Linked DNA regions of Homo sapiens: region 2 is linked to region 1. Evidence: promoter capture Hi-C in 16 types of primary human blood cells and fetal thymus (Javierre and others, 2016). All regions are on one chromosome and are shown on one strand. The core of a region is centred on a gene start or on the middle of the fragment in contact, and the rest is flanking DNA. Distances in the headings are between cores, read along the strand shown. Region 1 holds the start of KAT5 (lysine acetyltransferase 5). Region 2 overlaps PACS1 (phosphofurin acidic cluster sorting protein 1).

Region 1 (6,027 bases), core at 254-2,753:
AGAAGGGATGGCTGTGAAATGAGCCTGAAAAAAGCCACCAGAGAGTAGAAGAGAGGAAGAGAACAAGAGATGGTTTGGGGAACTCACCTGGGGAAAAACCGAGGCCGGGGCTGTCTCGCTGGGCACTGGAGTTGCTGGTGAAACCACCTCCACCTTCCGTTTCTGCAGAGAGAAACCAACAAAGGTGGGTCAGAAGGTAGAGAAGGTGGGACCTGAGAAGAAAGCAAGGTCCCTGGAATTGCTGAGGGTACCGTTGAGCGGTGGTTGGGCTGCAGGCAGGAGCTGGAGGAGAGCGGCTGGTCAGGCTCGCCACCGGGAATGGCCTCCCGCTCCTTGGGCAGGTTGAAGCGGAGTGTGATCTGGACCGGGATTGGCAAGGTCTTCCCGCTGGCCTGCGCCGAGGCCGGCTGTAGAGATAGGTCCAGGGTCTTCCTTTGGGGCGGGGATGGCAGTGGGATGGGGAAGGGGAAGAGGGGTCCCTCACCTCAAAATTATCAAACCCCACCCTCGCCTTCTGAAGGACACAGGACTAGCTACTGGACTCTGGGAGCTACATGTGCAATTTGGCCCCCATCCTTTGCAAGATGAAGTCAGGGTGAGAGGGAGCCGCCTCCTGCCCATCCAGGAGCTCCTAATGCCAACAGACAAGAGAAATAGGAGGCAGGAGAGAAAAGGTGAAGTGGGGGACCTACTCACCACCTCTCTCTCTGGAGAGCCAGGACGGGACCCAGGAAGTCCGTTCTTAGTGGGGGTCTTGGCCTCTTTCTTGGGGAACTGGATCTTCTTTAGGTCCAGCCGCTCATGCGTCACCCATTCATCCAGACGTTTGTTGACTGTAGCAGTGGGGATGGCTCAGGACAGAATGCCAAAGACTGTCCCCCAACCCTACCCTGATGCCCCACCTCAGGCCCAGAACTCACAGTCAATGTAATGGACGTAGAAAAGCTTCCGGCCACTGATGTCCTTCACGCTCAGGATCTCGGCCAGGGCTATGAGAATAGCATAGACAGGGGCCTTAGACAGGCCAGGCTATGAGACTCCACCCTTCCACGACCTGAACTCCACCCCCAGGCCGGATCCCTAAGCTCCAGCACTTAGGTCTCTCCTAAGCCTCCTTCAGTCACAAGTGCCACCCCTTTCCAGGCCCCGCCCTGTACCTCTCGGAGCAGCTAAGAGCCACGCCCCTTCATCAAAGTATCTGCGCCTCGCCCGCCCCATAATTCCAGACGCCCCTCCCCATCCCGGGATTTCAGTTGACTCCCGCCCCTCGCCCTCAGGTTCCTTAGTCCCGCCCCCCAACGTCACTCACGCCACTCATCTTCGTTGTCCTGGTTCCGCCGCAGCACGGGTAGGCGGCAGCCCTCGATTATCTCCCCCTGGGGAGACAGCGCGACGCCAGGGTCGGCTACTGGGGGGCCTCGGGCTCTACCCACCTCCCCTGGCTCCCTCCGCCCCGCCCCGGGCACCGGACTCACCACCTCCGCCATCTTCCCTCCCTCCACTGCCACTTCCGGCCCCTCTGGGAGACGTCACTTCCGGGACCGAGCGCCCTGTGGGCCCGGGCCTCACGAAGCCCCTGTAGAGGGGGACCTTTGAGAGACACCGCGACCCAGCTGCGAGGGGCAAGACTGCCCCTGTGACTCGGGGGAAAACGGAGTGTTACAAGCCTCAGGCCGAGCCCTAGGTGGAAACCCCATAACGTGCACAGCCAGTGGCGGTCTACTGAGTCCGTCACGTGACGCCCACCGGGTGCGAAGCTGGTCACGTGTATGCGGAGCGGGTCACGTGGCAATACCGTTTTTGGCTTTGTCGGAGGGAAGTCCTCGGGCGTCTCCTTGTGGCGGCGGGAGGTGTTGCCGGGAGTCAACTGGGCGCGAGAGGCTGGAGAAAGGAAGTGGCCTTAGAAGGGTTCGAACGCTCCCCCAAGTCTGTGGACTTCATTCCGTAGGCAAGAGGACTCAGGGAAGATTCCTAGCTTTATTTTGTATATTAGGCTTTTTTAATTTGTATATATTTATTTTTGAGACGGAGTCTCGCTCTGTCGCCAGGCTGGAGTGCAGTGGCGCGATCTCAGCTCCCTGTAACCCCCGCCTCCCGGGTTCAAGCGATTCTCCTGCCTCAGCCTCCCGAGTACCCAACTAATTTTTGTATTTTTAGTACGGGCGGGGTTTCACCATGTTGGCCAGGATGGTCTAGAGCTCTTGACCTCGTGATCCGCCCGCCTCGGCCTCACAAAGTACTGGGATTACAGGCGTGAGCCACCGCCCTCAGCCATATTAGGCTTTTTTTTTTTTTTTTTTTTTTTTTGAGACAAGGTCTGGCTCTCTCGCCCGGGCTGGAGTGCAGCCAGCGAGGCACAATCTCCGCTCACTGCAGCCTCCCCCTCCCGGGATCAAGTGATCCACCTCAGGCTCTCTAGTAGCTGGGACTACAGGCGCGCACCACCAAGCCTGGCTAGTTTTTTAAAATTTTTGTGTAAACAGGGTTTGGAGACTGGGCATGGTGGCTCACACCTGTAATCCCAGCTGCCTCCAGTCTAATCATGAGAAAAACATCAGACAAATCCCAATTGAGAAACATTTTACAAAATACCCCATGAATACTCCTCAAAACTGTGAAGGTGTCACCGGTGGAGGGTGTACAGGTTCTTGGCATCTAAAATAATGGGACAAAACGGCTGGGCGCGGTGGCTCACGCCTATAATCCCAGCACTTTGGGAGGCCGAGGCGGGCGGATCACGAGGTCAGGAGATTGAGACCATCCTGGCCAACACGGTGAAACCCTGTCTCTACTAAAAATAAATACAAAAAATTAGCTGGGCGTGGTGGCAGGCGCCTGTAGTCCCAGCTACTCGGGAGGCAGAGGCAGGAGAGTGGCGTGAACCCGGGAGGCAGAGCTTGCAGTGAGCCGAGATTGCGCCACTGCACTCCAGACAGAGCAAGACTCTGTCTCAAAGAAAAAGAAAAAAAAAAAGAATTGGACAAAATGCACAAAGCAAGGAAGGAATGAACGATTTATTGAAAATGAAAGTACACTCCAGTGTTGGGGCCGGCTGAGCATAGGTGCTCAAGGGCCCAGTTACAGAATTTGTTGGAGTTTAAATACCCTTTGGAGGATTCCATTGGTTATTTGGGATATGCCATATGTAAATGAAGAGGATGAAGTAAAGTTACAAAGTCATTTAGGGTGTACTCCCTAAGGAGAGGATATTTCCTGTCATAACTGAAGTGTGAATCAGCCTTATATGTTCCCTGCCTCCAGACCCTATTTTCCTGCCTCAAAGGTGGCTGAACATGGTGGCTTACGCCTATAATCCCAGTGTTACAGGAAAGGGGTCCCCATCCAGACCCCAAGAGAGGGTTCTTGGATCTCGTGCAATAAAGAATTCAGGGCGAGTCCAGCACTTTGGGAGGCCAGGCAGGTGGATAACCTGAGGTCAGGAGTTCGAGACCAGCCTGACCAACATGATGAAACCCCATCTCTACTAAAAATACAAAAATTAGGCAGGCGTGGTGGTGCGCGCCTGTAATCCCAGCTACTCGGGAGGCTGAGGCTGGAGAATTGCTTGAACCCAGGAGGCGGAGGTTGCAGTGAGCCAAGATCAGGCCACTGCACTCCAGCCTGGGAACAGAACAAGACTCCGTCTCAAAAAAAAAAAAAAAGAATTGAGGGCGAGGCCATAAAGTGAAAGCAAGTTTGTTAGGAAAGTAAAGGAACTCAATGCTGGTTGCCCATTTTTCTGGTTATTTCTTGATGATCTGCTAAGCAAGGGGCGGATTATTCATGCCTCCCCTTTTTAGACCATATTCGGTAACTTCCTGCCGTTGCCATGGCACTGGTAGGAGTGCAGCAGTGAGGACAACCAGAGGTCACTCTGGTGGCCGTCTTGGTTTTGGTGGGTTTTAGTTGGCTTTCTTACTGCAACCTGTTTTATCAGCAAGGTCTTTATGACCTGTATCTTGTACCGACCTATCTTATCTTGTGACTTAGAATGTCTTAACCGTCTGGGAATGCAGCCTAGTAGGTCTCGGCCTCATTTTACCCAGCTTCTATTCAAGATAGAGTTGCTCTGGTTCATGCAACTCTGACACCGAGGCAGGCGGACAACTTGAGGTCAGGCGTTCAAGACCAGCCTGGCCAACATGGTAAAACACCGTCTCTACTAAAAATACAAAAGTTAGCTGGGCACGGTGGCATCCGCCTGTAATCCCAGCTACTCAGTCAGCCAAGATCGTGCCACTGCACTCCAGCCTGGGCAACAGAACAAGACTGTGTCTCAGAAGGAAAAAAAAGAGGCCGTGCGCAGTGGCTCGCTCCTGTAATCCCAGCACTTTGGGAGGTCAAGGCAGGAGTTCGAGACCAGCCTGGCCAATATAGTGAAACCACATCTCTACTAAAAATACAAAAATTAGCTGGGCGTGGTGGCATCTGCCTGTAGTCCTAGCTATTCAGGAGGCTGAGGCGGGAGAATCGCTTGAACCCAGGAGGCAGAGGTTGCAGTGAGCCAAGATTGTGCCAGTGCACTCCAGCCTGGGCAACAGACAGAGACTCCATCTCAAAAAATAAATAAAATAAAATAAAGAAAGAAAAGAAAAAGATGTTGCTCAGGCTGGCCTCAAACTCCTGCCTGCAATCCGCCTGCCTCAGCCTCCCAAAGTGCTAGGGCCACCGCACCCTGCCATTGTTTTGTATATTAGGTTTCTTTTTTTTTTGGTCCAGTGGCTCACGGCTGTGATCCAAACACTGGGAGGCTGAGGTGGGAGGATCGCTTGAGCCCAGGAGTTACAGACCAGCCTCGGCAACAGAGCGAGACTCTGTCTCTACAAAATTTTTTTTTTTTAATTAGCCAGGCGTGGCGGTGGCCCTCGCTTGTGTTCCCAGCTACTCAGGAGGCAGAGGAGGGAGGATCGCTTGAGCCTAGGAGTTCCAGGCTGCAGTGAGCCGACCACTGCACTCCACCCTGAGTGACAGACAGACCCTGTCTCAAAATAAATAAAGACCTCTTGCCCTTAGGGCGCTTACATTTTTGGAGTTTGGGAGAGAAGAGGACAGGTATAGATTGTCCACCCTCAGCAATGTCACCATCCCTGCTGGGCCACATGCAAAGTGGATAGCAAAGAGAAAGACAGGACTCACCCTTCTACGTTAGCTCAGAGTTTTGGCTGGAAGGGTGTTACAAAAGTGTTTGCTTGAGAAAACTAGCGCCTCCTCAGACTGAGTCATCTTCAAAATAGCACTTGCTTTCCATTCTAAATGTCACCAGCACAGAGGACCCCAACTCCATTTTGCCATTTTCAGCAGAGTTTGCAGAATTCACGGAGACACATGGGTTGCTTTATCATAGGGACAATCATGGTAACACCTAGAGATGATGCACTTGGGGGTCGGGCATGGTATTCAGCACATGATGGGCATCCAAAAATCAATAGGTCTTCTTAACCACTAATAGTGTGCTTAAAGATTTTCAAATATCCTTCTTATGCCCATTGTTGCAAAAACGCAACATGTCTGATAGTGCTCTGCCCCCATCCCCCACATCCCTGATCAAGGTATCTCACACATATACCTGCAACTTTGTTTGGGGCTTCCCCTGGCTGCAGGAGTACGTCCAGCCTATGCATCTGGAAGGCCAGAAGTGTGACGAGTTAACACCTCCTGAAGCAACTCTCAGCCAATGCCTGATGGGAGTTGGAGGGTAAACTCCCTTGTCTGTGGGGTGAGACCACTCTGAGGGAGGGCTGACTTTTAAATTTAAAATGTTTTTAGATACATTTCATATATATTTTTCTATAAATGCATATATAGTCTTGATGGTTAATTTTAAGTATAGACTGGGTTATGGGGTACCCAGATAATTGATTAAACATTATTCCTGGGTGTGTCTTTGGGGTGTTTTCAGATGATATTAGCATTTGAATGGATAGATTGAGGAAAGCAGAGGACCCTCCCCAGTGCAGGTGAGCATCATAGTCAGAGACTGAATAGCACAAAAAGGTGAAGGAAGAGAGCGTTTTCTCTCTCTGTCTG
Region 2 (5,783 bases), core at 3,174-5,673, 420 kb before region 1:
AGTAGGCAAGATTTGAAAGCAAGTGTCTATCAACAGATGAATGGATAAATAAATGCAGTACATATATATACAATGGAGTACTATTTGGCCACAAAAAAGAATGTGATCCTTTGGATGGATGGATGAAACATGGATGGAACTAGATCATTATGTTAAATAAAATAAGCCAGGCACAGCAAGACAAACTTCACATGTTCTCACTTACTTGTGAGAGCTAAAAATTAATACAATTAAACTCATGGAGACAAAGAGTAGAAGGATGGTTACCACAGGCTGGGAAGGGTAGTGGTGGGGTTAGGGGGGTGGATGGGAGGGAAGTGGGGAGGGCTAATGGATTAAAAAAAAAAGTTACAAAGCATGAATAAGACCTAATATTTGCTAGCACAACAGGGTGACTATAGTACAAAATAATTTAATTATACATTTTAAAGTAACTAAAAAGTATAACTGGATTGTCTGTAACACAAAGGATAAATGCTTGAGTTGGACACCCCACTTACCCTCATGTGATTATTATGCATTGCCTGCCTGTATCAAAACAAATGCAACCCATAAATATATACACCCACTATGTACCCACAAACATGAAAATTAAAAATTTATATATTTCGGGCTTAGCCACCACTATCTCAAGCACATCATGAAAACTAAAGGTAAACAGTAGCATGATGTTTTCAGGTTGCAAGCACTGGTTTCATAACAGGCTGTAAATTAATCCTAAAAGTCAGAACTTCTCTTTTTCAGTGGTTCTCAAACTTTGGTGTGCCTAAGGGTCGCCTGGGGAACCTGTTTAAAAATACAGACAGCGGCCAGGCACAGTGGCTCACACCTGTAATCCCAGCACTTTGGGAGGCTGAGGCGGGCGGATCATGAGGTCAAGATATCGAGACCATCCTGGCCAACATGGTGAAACCCTGTCTCTACTAAAAATACAAAAATTAGCTGGGCGTGGTGGCGCATGTCTGTAGTCCCAGCTACTCGGGAGGCTGAGGCAGGAGAATCACTTGAACCCGGGAGGCGGAGGTTGCAGTGAGCCAAGATCGCGCCACTGCACTCCAGCTTGGGCGACAGAGCAAGACTTTGTCTCGAAAAAAAAAAAAAGTGCAGACAGCAAGAGCTCACCTCTCAAGAGTCCTATTTAGTAGCTTCATCAGCAGTAAGCCTAACAATAATAAGAAACACAATATCAGGGCTGGGATTAGGGTGAGGCAAGCAAGGGACCCAGGGTACAAAACTTAAAGAAGTGCTTGCTCTCAGGTTTGTGCAAGTGCCAAGACAGTAAGTGCCTCCTCACACACTTCGTGGGGCATGTCACTTGACTCACTCTAGTCTTGGTCCTGCAAAGTATAGGGTAGTCCATGGACCATCAGCATCAGCATGGCCTGGGGACTTATTAAAAATGCAAAAGCCGTCTGGGCACCATAGCTCACCCTGTAATCCCACTTTGGGTGGTTGCTTGGGGACAGGATTTCAATACCAGCCCAGGTAATATGGCAAGACTCCCATCTCTGTAAAAAAATTTTTTTTAATTACCTGGGCATGGTGGCAGAAGTCTACAGTCCTATCTACTAAGAAGGCTGAGGCAGGAGCATCACTTCAGTCCATGAGTTTGAGGCTGCAGTGAGCCATGATCAGGCCACTGCACTCTAGCCTGAGTGACAGAGTGTGATACTGTCCAATAAATAAATAAATAAATAAATAAACGGGGCAAAATCTTGGCCTACCCCAGACCTACTGAATCAGAATTTGCATTTTATGCTGGGTGCTGTGGCTCATGTCTGTAATACCAGCATTCTAGAAGCCCAAGGCAGGTGGATCACCTGAGGTCAGGAGTTCAAGACCAGCCTGGCCAACATGGTGAAACCCCGTCTCTACTAAAAATAAAAAAAGAATTTGCATTTTAACAAGATTCTCAGGTTATTCCTGTTCACATTAAAGTCTGAGAAACAATGAATAGAAGGGATGCTCAAATTTAGTTCTGCAACTGAAACCAAAACCCTAAGCACTTTTTAACCTATCATGCTGCATTTCTAAAATAGGAAACAGTGAGTAATGGCTCTCCACTGGAGTCCAAAGGACAGCCCTACAATGGCCAATATTATTGTCACCCCTTGGTCAATGGCCTGGATAATGACATAAGAGATGCTTATTAACCTGCAGGTGGCACAAAAGAGGAGGCTGCTGAGGCAGGAAGGAGCAGAGTCAGACCATCCTGACCGGCTGGATGCCAGGTAAGCACATAACAAGTTTTACATTTAGGTTAAAAATTTCAGTAATGAAGGTATAAGATGTGTGTGGTGGTTTGCTTGGAAATAAAACATATGAAACACTCTAGGAATAAATCCAAAAGTGTGTCATGAATTTAATATAATGGCATTTCAAAACAGGAAAAAATGAGTAATTCAATAATGTTGGAGTAACTAGACAGCTAGCTGGAAAAAAATTAATTTGAACCCCTACCTCACATCTTATCTTAAAATAAATTCTAGATGCATAAAAGATTTAAGTACACACACACACACACAAACACAAACACACACACTCACACAAATCCATTTAAGTACTAGCAGAAAATATGGGTATTTTTTAAACAGCCTCAAGTGGACAAGGCCTTTCTAAGTATGAATAAACTCCAAACACATGAAGTCCAGAGGTCATTTTAAAAAAGATGGCTACATTTTATTACATTAAAGAAAAACTTCTGCACGGCAAACACCAATGTAAACAGAGCTTGGAGACAAATGACGAAATGGTGGGGGGGGGGGCAATTTGTGACTCATATCCAAGACATAGGGCTATTTTCAAAAATCCCCAAAAATCAAGAAGAAAAAAGCCCAACAAGCCAAGAGAAAAGTGGGCAATGCTGAGGCTGGAGAGCCTACGGAGGCCGGGCACTGTCCTCCAATAGCTGAAGACCACTTCTGTGGGAGTGAAAAAACTGAGTCATTCATTTCTACAAATGGTTAAATCAGGACTTAGGGTGGAAATTCCCATGAGTTAAGTTTTAGCCGAACATAGAGAACTTATTAATAATTCGGGCAGTCCATACAATGGAATGGGCCTGCTTAAAAAACTGCTGAATTCTTGTTCAGTGGAAGCACTCGGGCCAAGGCTAGATGAGGGTCAACTTGTATGAAGTTTTTTGGAAGGCATGAGATGGGAAACTAAACTGCACGATTACTGAGGGTGCTTAAAACCCTAAAATTATGCAATTCTATTCAAAGACTACATCCGCTCTGGAAAAGATAGGAGAATAAATCAAATAATGATGGGCTATCACAGCTCCATAAAGACTGAAAGCCATGGTGCTCATCACTCCTAGCTTTTTATTCTAAGTAGGGTGTTCTCTGGAGTGGGGATGTTAGAGGATATGAAGGTTTTGTTAAATCATAACTCCTGCACTCAGGAATATTTTGGTTTGTTTTGGTTTTTGGTGTGTGTGTGTGTGTGTGTGTGTGTGTGTGACAGTGGGATTGGGCAGTCCTGTTTCACATTCTTGGCGTGTGTGTGTGTGTGTGTGTGTGTTAGCGGGATTGGGCAGTCCTGTTTCACATTCCTCTCCTGGGCTCCCCAAACACTGAAAGCAACAGCACAATTTTGAAAGAGAGTGAATTAGTGCTGGAGGGTTGAGTGTGAGGTCTCAGCAGCATAGCCACATAACCCGTAGGACGTACTTACGTATCTACGTCATTTACGACAGTCCAATTATGAGCTAAAAGTCACAGACAAATCAGTAGCTCAATAATTCAACTGACAGGTGGACAGTGTTTCAGAAGCTAGTCTGGAAGGCACGTGGGCAGAATCTGAAACCACGTTAAGAGGAGCGCAGGAGGCTGGGTGTAGTGGCTCACGCCTGTAATCCCAGCACTTTGGGAGGCCAAGTGGGGTGGATCACTTGAGGTCAGGAGTTCGAGACCAGCCTGGCCAACATGGTGAAACCCCGTCTCTACTAAAAATACAAAAATTAGCCAGGCATGGTGGTAGGCACCTGTAATCCCAGCTACTCGGGAGGCTGAGACAGAAGAATTGCTTGAACCCAGGAGGTGGAGGTTGCACTGAGTTGAGATTGCACCACTGCACTCTAGCCTGGGTGACAGAGCAAGGCTCTGTCTCAAAAAAAAAAAAAAAGCGCAGGAGAGGAGGCCAGCAGGGATGAGGGCAGGCCTCAGGCAGCCATGGTACATGCTGAACCTGTGCACAGTGTGTCTGGGTGACAGTGCTGGCATGTTTTCCACACAGAAAATCGCTCTGTAATACTAGTAATTTATCAACTAAAGTTAAAATGAAGAACTTTCATTTATCTTGAGTTCTAAAGCTTAAGCCAAAGCAATTTTAGTTGGAGAAAGCTGAGGAGCTAACAAAAACCCATAAAGATTCTGAAGGGCGTGCCTTACCTATCTCAGAGCTCGTGAAGATGGCAACCATGAGTCCTTAGCGTGGCTTCTAATTTCTCTTCAAAATCAAGGGCTTCCTTTCTTTTTGATATGGACACACCACTAAGTACTCTTTAGCCATTACCAGGACAAGCTTTTAGTTCAAAATATAATGAAAAGAATGAGTGGTGAGAAGAAATAAGATTTTTTTTTTTGAGATGGAGTCTATCTCTATTGCCCAGGCTGGAGTGCAGCGATGTGACCTCAGCTCACTGCAACCTCCACATCCCGGGTTCAAGCCATCCTCCTGCCTCAGACTCCCAAGTAGCTGGAGTAGCACCACACCTGGCTAATTTTTGTATTTTTAGTAGAGACAGGGTTTCACCATGATGGCCAGGCTGGTCTCGAACTCCTGACCTCAGGTGATCCACCTACCTCAGCCTCCCAAAATGCTGGGATTACAGGCGTGAGCCACTGCACTTGGCTGAAATAAGATATTTTTGAGGTAAGAGAGCAATAAATAAGGAAGAAACAAGAAACCCAAAGAGGAGATAAGAAGGATTATCTCCGGCATAATTATCTAAGATTCAAGACAGAATAAAAGTGAGTAATTGCTGGGGAGTGAAGGGAATCCCCAGTGATAGTGAGAAAAAGATGACACCGTGACCAAGTTTCTACACTGGCCATCAGGGGGCACCATCGGTCAGAACAACGCCCTGGCGCCAGGGTACAGGGAGCCCTACCCAACTGGACTTCCATATGTACAGGCTGCTCCCACTTTGGGAACACATACTAAACTATAAGCCATTGGAAATGCTTTTACAGCCAGATTAAGAGAGAAAAAAAAATACATCAAAAACAAACACAAACCCATCTGTCCCTATATTTGTACATCCAAATCAGAAATGGCAACGATACGTAGCGTGTCATTTGGATCCTAGAAGTAGGGAGGGCCAGAGAAAGCTGAAGAAATTTCATCACCTAGCCAGGTGTAGTGGCAGGCACCTGTAGGTCCCAGCTACTAGGGAGGCTGAGGCACAAGAATCACTTGAACCTGGGAGGCAGAGGTTGCAGTGAGCCGAGCGAGATTGCTCCACTGCACTCCAGCTTGGGGGACAGAGCGAGACTCCGTCTCAAAAAAAAAAAAAAAAAAAAAAAAAGAAAAAGAAAAAGAAAAAGAAATTTAATCACCGAGTCCCTGTTACTGAAACTCAGCCGGCCTCACAACAGTCGAGGGCAGCAGCACAGTGGGGCAGTGGACTCCGCACAAGGGGATGGTGGGGAATTACGCTAATGGGGATTTCAGGGAGCACAGAGAGGAACCTGGAACAATGACAATGTGATCAATGCCTCAGGAATAGGCATTTCATGCTTATGTTAGAGCTAGGTTCTCATATCTTTAAGAAATTA

What was found. The method cuts DNA at HindIII sites, captures the fragments that hold promoters and counts their contacts. A CHiCAGO score of 5 or more calls a contact.
Region 2: a fragment that was not itself captured here is called in contact with the fragment with the promoter of KAT5 in region 1 in 1 of 17 cell types (activated CD4 T cells); the score reaches 5.4 in activated CD4 T cells.

The regions. Positions count from the first base shown.
Region 1 is chr11:65,707,728-65,713,754 of GRCh38, reverse strand. It overlaps KAT5 (lysine acetyltransferase 5), which reads right to left and starts at 1,503. Exons shown (of 13, transcript NM_182710.3): 1 at 1,310-1,503; 2 at 921-989; 3 at 697-833; 4 at 252-407; 5 at 88-162. The coding sequence starts at 1,487. RefSeq lists silencers at 1,178-1,257, 1,268-1,457 and enhancers at 1,488-1,797, 1,828-1,947. The HindIII fragment of the contact is 6,423 bases long and covers 948-6,027 here.
Region 2 is chr11:66,134,005-66,139,787 of GRCh38, reverse strand. All of the region lies in intron 1 of PACS1 (phosphofurin acidic cluster sorting protein 1), which reads right to left. Among named protein-coding and RNA genes, the nearest start is that of PACS1, 67 kb to the right of the region's middle. RefSeq lists silencers at 719-878, 3,883-3,932. The HindIII fragment of the contact is 212 bases long and covers 4,318-4,529 here.